4 separate regions of the Homo sapiens genome follow, and regions 1, 3 and 4 are each linked to region 2. Evidence: promoter capture Hi-C in 16 types of primary human blood cells and fetal thymus (Javierre and others, 2016). All regions are on one chromosome and are shown on one strand. Each heading gives the region's core, a stretch centred on a gene start or on the middle of the fragment in contact. The rest is flanking DNA. Distances are from core to core; before and after follow the strand shown.

Evidence for each region. The method cuts DNA at HindIII sites, captures the fragments that hold promoters and counts their contacts. A CHiCAGO score of 5 or more calls a contact.
Region 1: a contact is called between a fragment that was not itself captured here and the fragment with the promoter of HAUS6 in region 2, in 15 of 17 cell types (naive B cells, total B cells, total CD8 T cells and 12 more). The highest score is 30.7, in naive B cells.
Region 3: a fragment that was not itself captured here is called in contact with the fragment with the promoter of HAUS6 in region 2 in 11 of 17 cell types (naive CD8 T cells, naive B cells, activated CD4 T cells and 8 more); the score reaches 12.6 in naive CD8 T cells.
Region 4: a contact is called between a fragment that was not itself captured here and the fragment with the promoter of HAUS6 in region 2, in 1 of 17 cell types (total B cells). The highest score is 5.4, in total B cells.

Annotation. Positions count from the first base shown.
Region 1 is chr9:19,452,743-19,456,179 of GRCh38, forward strand. No RefSeq gene overlaps it. Among named protein-coding and RNA genes, the nearest start is that of MAP1LC3BP1, 8.9 kb to the right of the region's middle. The HindIII fragment of the contact is 255 bases long and covers 1,589-1,843 here.
Region 2 is chr9:19,101,487-19,104,945 of GRCh38, forward strand. HAUS6 (HAUS augmin like complex subunit 6) reads right to left here and starts at 1,418. Exons shown (of 17, transcript NM_017645.5): 1 at 1,038-1,418. The coding sequence starts at 1,165. RefSeq lists an enhancer at 1,097-1,660. The HindIII fragment of the contact is 8,228 bases long and covers 1-3,459 here.
Region 3 is chr9:19,432,751-19,436,329 of GRCh38, forward strand. ACER2 (alkaline ceramidase 2) reads left to right here. Exons shown (of 6, transcript NM_001010887.3): 4 at 2,197-2,334. Among named protein-coding and RNA genes, the nearest start is that of ACER2, 26 kb to the left of the region's middle. The HindIII fragment of the contact is 6,564 bases long and covers 1-3,579 here.
Region 4 is chr9:19,477,635-19,480,978 of GRCh38, forward strand. All of the region lies in intron 1 of LOC105375988 (a long non-coding RNA gene), which reads left to right. Among named protein-coding and RNA genes, the nearest start is that of MAP1LC3BP1, 16 kb to the left of the region's middle. The HindIII fragment of the contact is 6,627 bases long and covers 1-3,344 here.

The sequences.
Region 1 (3,437 bases), core at 466-2,965, 350 kb after region 2:
CCTCTCACCTCAGCCTCCCCAGGAGCTGGGAGTACTGGTGCGTGCCTCCACTCCCAGCTAATTTTTGTATTTTTTCATAGAGATGGGGTTTCACCATTTTGCCCAGGCTGGTCTCAAACTTCTGGGCTCAAGAGATTCGCCCGCCTCGGCCTCCCAAAGTGCTGGGAATAGGCATGAGCCGTCACGCCTGGCCTAAAAAATATTTTTAAAATGATCTTTGAATTAAATATTCGTAGAATTTCTAATGTATCTCTTTGAGACCTAGGAGGTTGATGGAACAGAACTGCTGTTAAGTCCTTTGGGTTTCAAGTCTAGAATTTTTTAAAGGCAAATATCAGCTCATTCTTATTTTAGATTGACCTTATCAGGCATGGATTCTGGTCTCATCTACTTTATGGTATAAATGCTCCAAGGTAGGGGGTTTGGTATATATTTTAAGCCCGGCTTTTTTTTTTTTTTTTTTTTTTTTTTTTTTAATGTGAGAAGCAGAATGTGCTTCTAGAAACTGGTTTTAAAGAGATGAGCTGAGAAAGAAATGTGGAATGGAGTATATTTGAGGAGGACAAAACATAACTTCACTTTTGAACAGAAATCACTCTAGCTTGCCAGCATGGGATGTAAACCAAGAGAGTAGAAATATACCCATCTTATTTTAAGTTGGGTTTATGGCATCGCTCATATATGTAAAAGCACTACAAACTCTTTAAAGAAAATTGGGAAACTACAGAGAAGTCAAAGAAAAAAAAAAGTAACCCATATTTCTATTGCCCAGGTATAATCCTTGTTAATATTTTGGTTTGGTCTCCTCTTTTTTCCCCCAATATAGTTGTAAATAAATGATGTCTTTCAGAGTTGACATTTATCCTGTAGCTTGAATGGCATGTAAATGCCAGTTGTATATTTTTTCATGAAGTGTAGGTTTGGAATACACTAGAGTTAGCTATATGCTTGAATGCTGATCACTGGATTCTGAGACTGACTACTGAGTCTACCTTTTTAATCAAGCCTAACATGAATGGGCTCCAAAAAGTAATGAATGTAATTGTACTTTTTGATGTGCCTCTGCACTTGGCTTGGTGAGTCATCATAAATAGCTGTTAAATATGTGACTTTACAGATTTTGATATGTTCAGATTGTAAAAAATGAATAGTTTATTTCATTAATTGATGGGCAGTCAAGAATCTCCCTCCCTTCAGTAGGGCTGACACTTAGGAGTTAGGTCATGGTTGTGGTTACTTGGCATGGCTAATCAGATTTTGTTCTGGTCAGAATTTGCCCAAGATCAATACCCAGCAGAAACTGGAGTTAGGCTATAAAAAACCATTCATGTTTCCGAGTGATCATTTCAGTCAGCGATTCATGTTTTACAGTGTTTAGTTGTTGATTATTAGAAAAAGTAATATTTTCTTCCCTTTATGATTACATCATTATAAATCAAGTCCTTCCATGAACACATTTAAGGTGTGTGGAGATGAGATCTCTGAATCCATTTGGGGATGGGCTGCATTTTTGGGGAACTCTATGCCTGTCCAGTGAAGAGTGCCTAAAACATTAATTATAGATCAAAGATGTTCTGTTGAGGGACAAAGCTTGATGGTCATCAAACACAAGGCTTTGTAAAAATACGACCACCTATTCCACTTACTGGATCTGTCAGGTGTGTAAAACTTCTCTCGCCAGTTCATCATGCTTCCATGAGCCCTCAGGACTGGGATTTGAGCCTTCCTGGCTCTTTATCCCTTGGGGCAGACATGGAACCATCTCTGAGGGACCAGGTGGATGCTGAAGCTCACCCAGTCAGGGCCCCTCTCCTAGCTCCTTTTACACTGAAATTAATCTGAAAGCTTTCATAGCCAAGGCTTTGCCTAGGTGCTATTATTCCAGCTGGCCAAAGAGAAGTCTTGGGCCAGATTGGGATTCTCAATGGATTTTATAGACATAATTCCCCTGCAAACTTAAAAAAATAAATAACCCCTACTTTATAGGACTAATTGTTTGAATTGTATCTTTCTCTGTATGTTAAACCAGATTTAAAACTATTTTATAACCACAATATGTAATCAGAGCAATATAGTGTTTTCAGATATATACCTTGTTTTATACCTTATGTAGGTGTCCTACATAAGGGTGGCATGCCCACTGGCTGTGGTAAAATTTAATCCTCATTGCTTTGGGAGTGACTTAAGGCCTTTTGAAGTGGAGCTTTTGCACTTTATACTTTTTCTGTGAACTATGATAACTATATTTGATATTAAAGCTGTAAGTGGCATTTTCAGCAAATGAATATGTACATGTTTGTGTCTATTTCCAAAATGATTTCTGAACTATCTGCAGTGAAAATGTATCTGATGGATTGTAGAGCAAAGCACATTGCCTAAATTCATTTGTTAATGAATTGGGTACCATTGTTATTAAAAATGCGTAAAGTAATTGTTGTTCCTTGTTGGTTTCTTCTCAGAGCTGTGAAATTAACACATGAAAATATTTCCAGCATAAAATACCTAAGAACAGTTTATTTTTACTAAAACTTCTATAGTCATGTCATATAGATATAAATCTCAAATATAGGCCTGGTGCGGTGGCTCGTGCCTGTAATCCCAGCACTTTGGGAGGGGAAGGTGGGTGGATCACCTGAGGTCAGGAGTTCGAGACCAACCTGGCCAACATGGCGAAACCCCGTCTCTACTAAAAAAAATACAAAAATCAGCTGGGCATGGTAACTCGCACCTGCAGTCCCAGCTAGTCAGGAGGCTGAGGCAGGAGAATCACTTTCACCTGGGAGGCGATGGTTGCAGTGAGTCAAGGTTGCACCAATGCCCTCCAGCCTGGGTGACAGAGCGAGACTCTGTCTCAAAAAAAAAAAAAAAACCCAAAAATCTCAAATATAGAATACAGTTCATTTATGCTGGATTTCATCAAATCACTAGAAGGAAGATCGTGACATTTTAAAATCATAAATTTAGCAGGAAAATTTTTACCTACTTCTTTTAATTTTCTGTGGCAGTTTTTTAAACTGAAAGGACTCACAGATCATCAGATTTAGAAGAATAGTCTGGGCACAGTGGCTCATGCCTGTAATCCTGGCACTTTGGGATGCTGAAGTGGGTGTATCGCTTGAGCTCAGGAGTTCAAAACCAGCCTGGGCAACATGGTAAAACCCTGTCTCTACCAAAATTACAAAAATTAGCCAGGTGTGGTGATACACACCTGTAGTCCCAGCTACGCAGGAGGCTGAGGTGGGAGGATTGCTTGAGCCTAGGAGGCAGAGGTTGCAGTGAGCAGAGATCGTGCCACTGTGCTCCAGCCTGGGCCAAACAGTGAGACCATTTATCAAAAAGAAAAAAAAAAAAGAAAAATCGTAAGAGAAGAAAGACTGGATAAGCATTATCTGTATCATTACAGTGGGTTTTTAGACTTTTTTTTTTTTTTCTGGCAG
Region 2 (3,459 bases), core at 168-2,667:
TGTCTCAAAACAAAAAACAATGGCTCATATCTATAATCCCAGCACTTTGGAAGACCGAAGCAGGAGGATTGCTTGAGCCCAGGAATTTTGAGACCAGCCTGGGCAACATGGTTAGCTACTGTCTCTAAAATAATAATACTTTAAAAAAATAGAGGCCGGGCACGGTGGCTCACGCCTGTAATCCCAGCACTTTGGGAGGCCGAGGCAGGTGGATCATGAGCTCAGGAGATCGAGACCATCCTGGCCAACATGGTGAAACCCCGTCTCTACTAAAGATACAAAAATTGGTTGGGCGTGGTGGCAAGTGCCTGTAATCCCAGCTACTCGGGAGGCTGAGGCAGGAGAATCGCTTGAACCAGGGAGTTGGAGGGTGCAGTGAGCCGAGATCGTGCCACTGCACTCCAGCCTGGCAACAGAGGGAGACTCCATATGAAAGAAAAGAATTCCTCTTGGCCTACAGTGGGAATGATTAAATAGAGATACTGGCTAAAGTTGATAAAACAGAAGTGGAAAAAGTAGGGAAGGGGCTTTTACTTTCCATACTTTTCTTAAAAGGGTATTTGTTTTTAATACCCTTCTCCGTTGTTTTATGCTAACTCCAACATGCCTTACTAATTAAAAAATTAAAAATTATAAAATTAAACAACCACCTTCAAAGGCTCCCTTGAGTCCAAAAGGTGTTTTGTACATATGGTTCCCATGCTCTTCCACTACCACCCGCCATCCCTCCCACTACTTCACAGACCACCCCTCCACCACATAGGCAGAGTTAAGCTGCTCCTCCAGTCTTGCACTCTCCCCATCTGCAGACTTTTGCACTCCCCTACAGAGCGCTTCCGGCACTCTTGCATTATTTACTGTCTGTCTCTGCCCCTAGGCTGGCAGCAACTGGGAGTAGGAACTTTGGAGCCAATGCCTGGCACAGAGTAACTGCTCAACCAATTCTGATTAATCAACCTCCGGGGTCTACAAAAGGGGGAGTCCCCCGGCGTCCCCCGGTTCAGGCTCCCTCGCCCCGCCGGCCCCGGCCTCCTTACACTCCGAGGTGCGTGTGCGACACGATCTTTCCGCAGGCAATGGTTGCCGGGCCTGGCTCGAAGCCGAGCGCCTGCAGATACATCCAGAGATGCTCCTTCTCGAAAGCGGTGACCGAGGCCGAGCTCATCCTCGCGGTAGGCACGGTGGCTGCAAAGAAAGAAAGCGCAAGCCCAGGGGACTCGGAGGGCCCTCAAGATCCCTCCCTACGGTCAGCCTGAGGTCGCGGTGGTCCTTCCATTGCCAACGCCTGCTCCTTTCACGCCCAGAGCGATTTCGCCTCAAAGGGCCTCACAACCTCCGGGAAATTGAGTTTCTAACGGTATAGTGCGGCCACCACTGCCTCAGCGAAGCCACCACAAACCGAGACTCCCGCCCTTAAGGAAGAGCAGTGTGCGCCGGCGCCGCCAGGCGTCCGAGGGAGGAGGGACTTCCGGCAAAGACTATATCTCCCGCCATGCAATGCGTCCTTCTCTCCTCCCTTCCGGCCATGCCCAGCCAAGAAACTGCAAGACCCACCGGGCATTGCGCGGCCAGCGACTTGCTCTGCGCTTGCTTAACCGCTGTCGTGCCCAGATCCTCGGGCCTTCGGGTTTCTGATTCTTGGTTAGTGGGGTCCATTTGCTTGTGTATCCTAGTTGTTACGTCACAAAAAAGCCATAAATGGAGCACTATGCCTCGGTGTAGAGTTAAAGCATTGGTTCCATCCTCCGCTATGCTCACTGTGACTCTAATCAAGTCACGTAATCTCTGAGCCTCATTTCTGTCGTTAGCGAAATCTATGTCCTCAAATGCCGGATGTTCCTTTTCCTGCTTTAAATGAAATCTGGCTCTATACTCCCCTGCAGTCCTGCAGTCTTTTTTTTTTTTTTTTTTTTTTTTGAGACGGGGTTTCGCTCTTGTTGCTCAAGTTGGGGTGCAGTGACGCGATTTCGGCTCACTGCAACCTCCGCCTCCCGGGTTCAAGCGATTCTCCTGCCTCAGCCTCCCGAGTAGCTGGGATTAACAGGTGTCCGCCACCACGCCCGGCTAATTTTTTTGTATTTTTAATGGAGACGGGGTTTCACCATGTTGGCTGGCTGGTCTCGAACTCCTGACCTCAGGTTATCTGCCGGTCTTGGCCTCCCAAAGTGCTGGGATTACAGGCGTGAGCCACTGCGCCTGGCCGCCTGCAGTCCTCTTAATTTTTTTTTTTTTTTTTTTTTTTTTTTTGAGACGGAGTCTAGCTCTGTCTCCCAGGCTGGAGTGCAGTGGCGCAATCTCGGCTCACTGCAAGCTCCGCCTCCCAGGTTCACGCCATTCTCCTGCCTCAGCCTCCCGAGTAGCTGGGACTACAGGCTCCCACCACCACGCCGGGCTAATTTTTTGTATTTTTAGTAGAGACGGGGTTTCACCCTGTTAGCCAGGATGGTCTCGATCTCCTGACCTCGTGATCCGCCCTCCTCGGCCTCCCGAAGTGCTGGGATTATAGGCGTGAGCCACCGCACCCGGCCCGTCGTCTTAATTGACAGCTGTTGCCTACCACAAACCCCACTGACAACAGGGCCTGGAAGTGGATTGGGTAACCTGCTTTTAAGTCTCATTGCTACCTCTGGCAATGATTGTCTCCTGCCTCACTAAAATCACCTTAATAAAAGAGAGAGAGGCGGGGCACAGTGGCTCACGCCTATAATCCCAGCACTTTGGGAGGCCAAGGTGGGCGGATCACCTGAGGTGGGGAGTTCGAGACCAGCCTGACCAACATGTAGAAACCCCGTCTCTACTAAAAATACAAAATTAGCCGGGCGTGGTAGCGCATGCCTGTAATCCCAGCTCAGCTACTCGGGAGGCTGAGGCAGAAGAATCGCTTGAACCCGGGAGGCAGACGTTGCAGTGAGCCAAGATCCTTCCACTGCATTCCAGCCTGGGCGACAAAGTGAGACTCTGTCTCAAAAAAAAAAAAAAAAAAGAGGAGAGAGAGAGAGAGAAAGAAAGAAAAGCCACTAAGTTGCCCAGGCTGGGCTCGAACTCCTGGGCTCAAGCGACCTGCCCACCTTGACCTCCCAAGGAATGAGCCACCGTGCCCAGCCTAAAAGCACCTTTTGAAGTTTATGCTATCACCCATAGCTTTTCATTATGGAGGTCATCTGTAAGATCTCTGACTCCATTCTGGTGGTGCACGCCTGTGGTCCAGCTGCTCAGAAGGCTGAGGTGGGAAAATCACGTGGGCCCTGGGAGGCTGAGGCTGCAGTAAACTGTGATTGCACGACTGCACTTCAGCCTAGTGACAGAGCAAGACCCTTCTCAAAGCAAAAGAACAGCCACAAAAAAAAAATCTCTGACTCCTGTCGACAAAAAGAGTCAAAGTCTGTAAAATTGTTGCCGGAAAAAACAGAGTCCTGATCCAGACCCAAAGAGAAGGTTCTTGGATCTCGTGCAGGAAAT
Region 3 (3,579 bases), core at 311-2,810, 330 kb after region 2:
TTAATTAAAAATATACATATATAAAATTTATTTTATTTTTAGGTTATAGCTTACTGTAAACTCAAACTCCTGGGCTCAGGCCATCCTCCTACTTTGGCCTCCCAAAGTGCTAGGATTACAGGTGTGAGCCACCATACCCAGCCCAAACCCAAAAACCCTTCATAGAAAAAAATTGTTAAACCCTGCTGTAGAACGTCTGAAAAAATACAGAGAAATCGAACATCTGAAAACATACGGAAAAATCGCACGAAGAAAACAGCTATCCATATCTCACCTTCAGTGAAGTAGGTTGACTGTAATTTTACCATTCTCATGGCCAAATAATTTTGAAAATATCTGATTATTTCCTAAGGCTAAGTTTCTCGAAGTGGAATTCCTAGGCCAGTGAGTGTGAGTGGCTTTTTTTTTTTTTTTTTTTTTTTTATTGATCATTCTTGGGTGTTTCTCACAGAGGGGGATTTGGCAGGGTCATAGGACAATAGTGGAGGGAAGGTCAGCAGATAAACAAGTGAACAAAGGTCTCTGGTTTTCCTAGGCAGAGGACCCTGCGGCCTTCCGCAGCGTTTGGGTCCCTGGGTACTTGAGATTAGGGAGTGGTGATGACTCTTAATGAGCATGCTGCCTTCAAGCATCTGTTTAACAAAGCACATCTTGCACCGCCCTTAATCCATTTAACTCTGAGTGGACACAGCACATGTTTCAGAGAGCACAGGGTTGGGGGTAAGGTCACAGATCAACAGGATCCCAAGGCAGAAGAATTTTTCTTAGTACAGAACAAAATGAAAAGTCTCCCATGTCTACCTCTTTCTACACAGACACGGCAACCATCCGATTTCTCAATCTTTTCCCCACCTTTCCTCCCTTTCTATTCCACAAAGCCACCATTGTCATCCTGGCCCGTTCTCAATGAGCTGTTGGGCACACCTCCCAGATGGGGTGGTGGCCGGGCAGAGGGGCTCCTCACTTCCCAGTAGGGGCGGCCGGGCAGAGGCACCCCTCACCTCCCGGATGGGGCGGCTGGCCGGGCGGGGGGCTGACCCCCCCACCTCCTTCCCGGACGGGGCGGCTGGCCGGGCAGAGGGGCTCCTCACTTCCCAGTAGGGGCGGTCGGGCAGAGGTGCCCCTCACCTCCCGGACGGGGCGGCTGGCCGGGTAGGGGGCTGACCTCCTCCAGGACGGGGCGGCTGGCCGGGCAGGGGGCTGACCCCCCCACCTCCCTCCCGGACGGGGTGGCTGCCGGGCGGAGACGCTCCTCACTTCTCAGACGGGGCGGCTGCCGGGCGGAGGGTCTCCTCACTTCTCAGACGGGGCGGCCGGGCAGAGACGCTCCTCACCTCCCAGACGGGGTGGCGGCCGGGCAGAGGCGCTCCTCACATCCCAGACAGGGCGGCGGGGCAGAGGCGCTCCCCACATCCCAGATGATGGGCGGCCGGGCAGAGACGCTCCTCACTTCCTAGATGTGATGGCGGCCGGGAAGAGGCGCTCCTCACTTCCCAGATGGAATGGCAGCCGGGCAGAGATGCTCCTCACTTTCCAGACTGGGCAGCCAGGCAGAGGGGCTCCTCACATCCCAGACGATGGCCGGCCAGGCAGAGACGCTCCTCACTTCCCAGACGGGGTGGCGGCCGGGCAGAGGCTGCAATCTCGGCACTTTGGGAGGCCAAGGCAGGCAGCTGGGAGGTGGAGGTTGTAGCGAGCCGAGATCACGCCACTGCACTCCAGCCTGGGCGCCATTGAGCACTGAGTGAACCAGACTCCGTCTGCAATCCCGGCACCTCAGGAGGCCGAGGCTGGCGGATCACTCGCGGTTAGGAGCTGGAGACCAGCCTGGCCAACACAGCGAAACCCCGTCTCCACCAAAAAAATACGAAAACCAGTCAGGTGTGGCGGTGCGCGCCTGCAATTGCAGGCACTCCGCAGGCTGAGGCAGGAGAATCAGGCAGGGAGGTTGCAGTGAGCCGAGATGGCAGCAGTATAGTCCAGCTTCGGCTCGGCATGAGAGGGAGACCCTCTCTTTTTTTTTTTAAGACGAAGTCTCGCTCTGTCGCCGTGAGTGGCTTTTTGAACCTTGGTACTTAGCGCAGAATTTCTTTTCAGCTTGTATTTCTGGCAATGCCTGTACCTTGCTAACATTAAACAAACAAACAAACAAGAACTCCTTTTCTAATGGATTTGGTTTTGCTTTCATGGATTCAGGGGTAGGTTCAAGGTGGTGGTCAGTGTCCTGTCTGCGGTTACGACGTGCCTGGCATTTGTCAAGCCTGCCATCAACAACATCTCTCTGATGACCCTGGGAGTTCCTTGCACTGCACTGCTCATCGCAGAGCTAAAGAGGTAGGTGCCATCATTCCTGCCTACCCTTAGCTGTCCCCGTGCTGGGAACACACCAGTTCGGGGCTTCTTTGCTGTCCTGTAGCAGAAGAGGAGTTTTATTCCTTGTGAAGAGTTAGTTGCTGACTGTTGGATGGAAGCAATTTGATGGTTTGGTTCAAAATACTGGTAATCTCATTTTCAGTAGGAGGGGAGCAGCTGTTGAGCAGATGCAGTGCATCCCACTGATCACAAGCTAGCTTACCAGGACCATCTCAGTACCTAGATCAAGCTGTCTAGACTTAATTCTGTAGAAAAGAAAAGTCCTAGAAAGGTTATCGCATTCACACACAGAAGGAAAAAGAGGAAGGGGGCAGGGAAAGTGAGTTTGTATCTATAAGGAAATATGCACTTCAGGTGGACTGCAGTTGACTATGATACTTTCTCTGAGGCTTAATGTCTCATTTACAATCTATTAGGTAAAGGTTTTGCTCTTTGCATTAGCATTTTCTTTTGGGAACTTGTGTACTCAAATGCAAAAATCAGCTGGGCATGGTGGTGGGCACCTGTAATCCCAGCTACTCAGGAGGCTGAGGCAGGAGAATCGCCTGAACCTAGGAGGCAGAAGTTGCAGTGAGCTGAGATCACACTGCTGTACTCCAGCCTGGGTGACAGAGTGAGACTTGTCTCAAAAAAAGGAAAAAAAAAGCCGGGCGCAGTGGCTCATGCCTGTAATCCCAGTACTTTGGGAGGCCGAGGAGGGCGGATCACGAGGTCAGGAGATGGAGACCATCCTGGCTAACACAGTGAAACCCCGTCTCTACTAAAAATACAAAAAATTAGCTGGGCATGGTGGCGGGCGCCTGTAGTCCCAGCTACTTGGGAGGCTGAGGCAGGAGAATGGTGTGAACCCGGGAGGCGGAGCTTGCAGTGAGCCGCGATTGTGCCACTGCATTCCAGCCTGGGTGACAGAGCGAGACTCTATCTCAAAAAACAGAAAAAGAAGAAAGAAGAAAGCCCTTCTTTTTTTTTTTTTTCTTAATAGAGACAAAGTCCCACTGTGCTCAGGGGTTCTCAAACTCCTGGCCTCAAGCAGTCCTCTTGCCTCAGCGTCCCAAAGTATTGGGATTGCAGGTGTGAGCCACTGCAGCCAGCCTGCCCTTCCTTCTTGAATCCCTTGCAGTCTGGCTCCCCTCCCCATCTTTAGTCTGAAATGTTCATTCAAGAGTCACTAATGACGTTTTTTAAAAAACTAATTTTATCAAGTAG
Region 4 (3,344 bases), core at 679-3,178, 380 kb after region 2:
AAGCGATTCTCCTGCCTCAGCCTCCTGAGTAGCTGGGATTACAGGCATGTGCCACCACGCCAGGCTAATTTTGTATTTTTAGTAGAGATGGGGTTTCTCCATGATGGTCAGGCTGGTCTCAAACTCCTGACCTCAGGTGATCCGCCCGCCTCGGCCTCCCACAGTGCTGGGATTACAAGCGTCAGCCACCGTGCCCGGCCTCTGAAGATGTTTTATGACAATAACCACAGTCCTTTTTTTGTATGCTTTTAATTTTAGAAATTAACGTAATTTATATAGGTGCAGACAATTCACAATTACAAAGATATCAAACCAACCTAAGTGCCCATCAACTGAGGAGTGGGTAAAGAAAATGTGGTATATATACACCATGGAATACTACTCAGCCATTAAAAGAACAATATAATGTCTTTTGCAGCAACATGAATGGAGCTGGAAGCCATTACTCTAAGTGAAATAACTCAGGAATGGAAAAACCAAATACCATATGTTCTCACTTACAAGGGGGAGCTAAGCTATGTGGACACAAGGGCAAACAGAGTGTTATATTGGACACTGGAGACTCAGGGGAAGGAACCGGGAGAGGGCTGTGGGTTAAAAAGTACATACTGGGTACAACGTACACTACTCGGGTGAGGAGTGCTGAAGTCTCAGGTTTCAGTGCACCAGTCACTTGAGGAGTGTACGTTGTACCCAACATGTAGATGAATTCTACACAATTCATCATGTAACAAAAAAACATTAGTACCCTGGTATTCCTAAAGTATAGAAAAAAAGGATAAAATAAATAAATAAATAAATAAATAAATGGGTGCAGAATTATAAACCATATGAATGTACCTTAATTTTAAAATTTCCTTTTGCTGAACATTTAACATTTCTAATTTTTTGATATTATAATTACTGTAATAATGAACACCTCTATGTACACATTTGTACTCACATATCTGATTTTTTTCCAGTGTGTTGAATCGTGGAAGTTAACTTTCTGGATTAAAGATTATGTGTATTGTTACGGCTTTTGAAATATATTGTTGCCAAATTGCCCTCCAGAAAAGTTGTACTGATTTACAGTTTTATCCTCTGTCATGGTATATCTTTCTTTGTGTATTTTTTCAACATTTTGCACATTTTTACAAATTGTAAAATATATCACACATACAAAAGTTTATGTGACATATACATACATTTTAAAAGACTAAACAAAAATAAAAAACCACTGTGTTCTCATATCTCAGCTGTAATGAACTAAAACATTACCAATATCTTTGAACCTGTCCAAGGGGTGACTGCCTCCTTCTGGTTTGTCCAGAACTGTCCTGGTTTTAGCACTGAACGTCGCAGGTCCTAGTTAACCATTTAGTCTCAGCCTGGACAGCTGATCACCGTACCCCTATGTGCTTCTCTCCAAATCTACCTCCTCCCTCCTCCAAGGGTATCCTGTATGGACTTCTAAATAATGTACTCTGAGGTTTTTACTACATAAATGGAATCACATGATATGTTCCTTTTGTGAGTTGCTTCCAGCCAGCATTGTTTTTGAGCTTCATCCTATTGATATCTATAGCCGCAGTTCATATAGTTTTTCTGCTGACTGCCATCCATTTGATGAATACATCACCGTTTCTCCATCTTCTGTCAATAAACATTGCAGCTTTTGTTGCTGTGAGCTGCACAGCTCTGAACAGTCTTATCTGTCTCCTGGAGCAAAGGTCCAAGAGTTTCTCTAGGTTATTTTCCTAAGTGTTAAATTGCTAGAGGACTTACATAACCTCATCAGAAGTGCCAAATTGTTTTCTAAAGAAGTTGTGCCTATTTCCATCCACTAGCAATGCATGAAAATAGCTGTTTTCCACACCCTCATGAAGCAGTGTCTGACTTTGAAACTTTAGCCATTGTGGTTGCTATGAAATGGTATTTCATTGTGGGTTTAATTTACATCTTACTGATTACCAGTGAGATTGAACCTCTTTTCAGAGGTCGATTGGCAATTTCTGTTTCCTCTTCTGTGAAAGGCCTGCCTGCATTGTTTGCTCATTTTTCTATTGGGCCAGTTGTCTTTTTCTTACAGATTTGTGGGCCCACTATTTTTTGTTTTTATCAAGGTAAAATCAGGTTAAATTGGCTTTCAGAATCAGTCTGAAGGGATGAAAATCCAAAGGACTACACCTATTTAAGGGATGGACATATCAAAAGACAGAATGAAAATGCTTGTTACACAGTCCCTTCAGTCTTCTTTATCTGCAGATGGCTAATATTTTATGCTTTAAGAAATAAAACCAACTAACATTATCTTCTGCTCCAGTGGTTCTCAGCAGCATCCACATCATCTGTAGACTCATTAAAATGAAAATTACTTGGCCCCACCAACAGCCTACTGAATTGGGAACTCTGAAAAGAAGACCCTGCAATCTGCTTCAACATCCCTGCAGTGATTTGGATGCATGCCAAGTTTGGGAGCCACTGTTCTACATTGTCTCCTTGTCCCACCTGGTGGATGGAGAACTGACCATGACCTACCATTCTACAGGTCATCATCATCCTTCCACCTACAAATAGACATTAGAAAGTGTTTTTTAAGAAAAGGACAGATATTTGGGGCCCCAAGAATGGGATTTTTGGTGGCCCAGCTCAGATTGCAGGGTATTCAGTTTATGGACTACTTATCCTGTCAACACTCTAATGTCAAAACTTGGACCTAACCAGACCATTCTCTCTGCCCGAAGGAGGCATTAAAAAGAAAAAGGCAAAAAGATGGGACGTCCTGCCTGCGTGGGGAGATGTTTTCAGGGATGATGTCCATGTTGTTTTCTTCGGGTGTGTGGGTTGAGATAATTTCTCTGCTTTTGGTCCAGGAGAGCGTTCCTTGTCCTCTCCCACTCTGGCGAGGCTGGGGCAGCTTCCTCTGAGGCTGTTCCCCAGTCAGGCACCACTGAGCCGGTGCCAGTAATGAGCAGTGACCAGAAGTCTGCTATTTGCTCCAGGGCCTGTGTCTTCAGCACTTAGGTTGCCCTTCTCTGGATTCCTTCTCTTTGAAACCACCCAGGATAGCTGCATCTCAGGTGACTCTCATGGCTCACTGAGGGGCAGAGTCAGCCACAATCTTTATTTTGTTTTATTATTATTTTTTTGAGACAAGATCTTGCTCTGTCACTCAGGCTAGAGTGCAGTGGTTTGATCATGGTTCACGTGGCCTTGAACTCCTGGGCTCAAGCAATCCTCCTGCCTTAGCCTCCCCAGTAGCTGGGACTATAGGAGTGTGCCACCACACCAGGCCAATTACTTTTATGTTTTTACATTTTTTGGTAGAGACAGGGTCTCACTCTGTCACCCAGGCTGGAGTG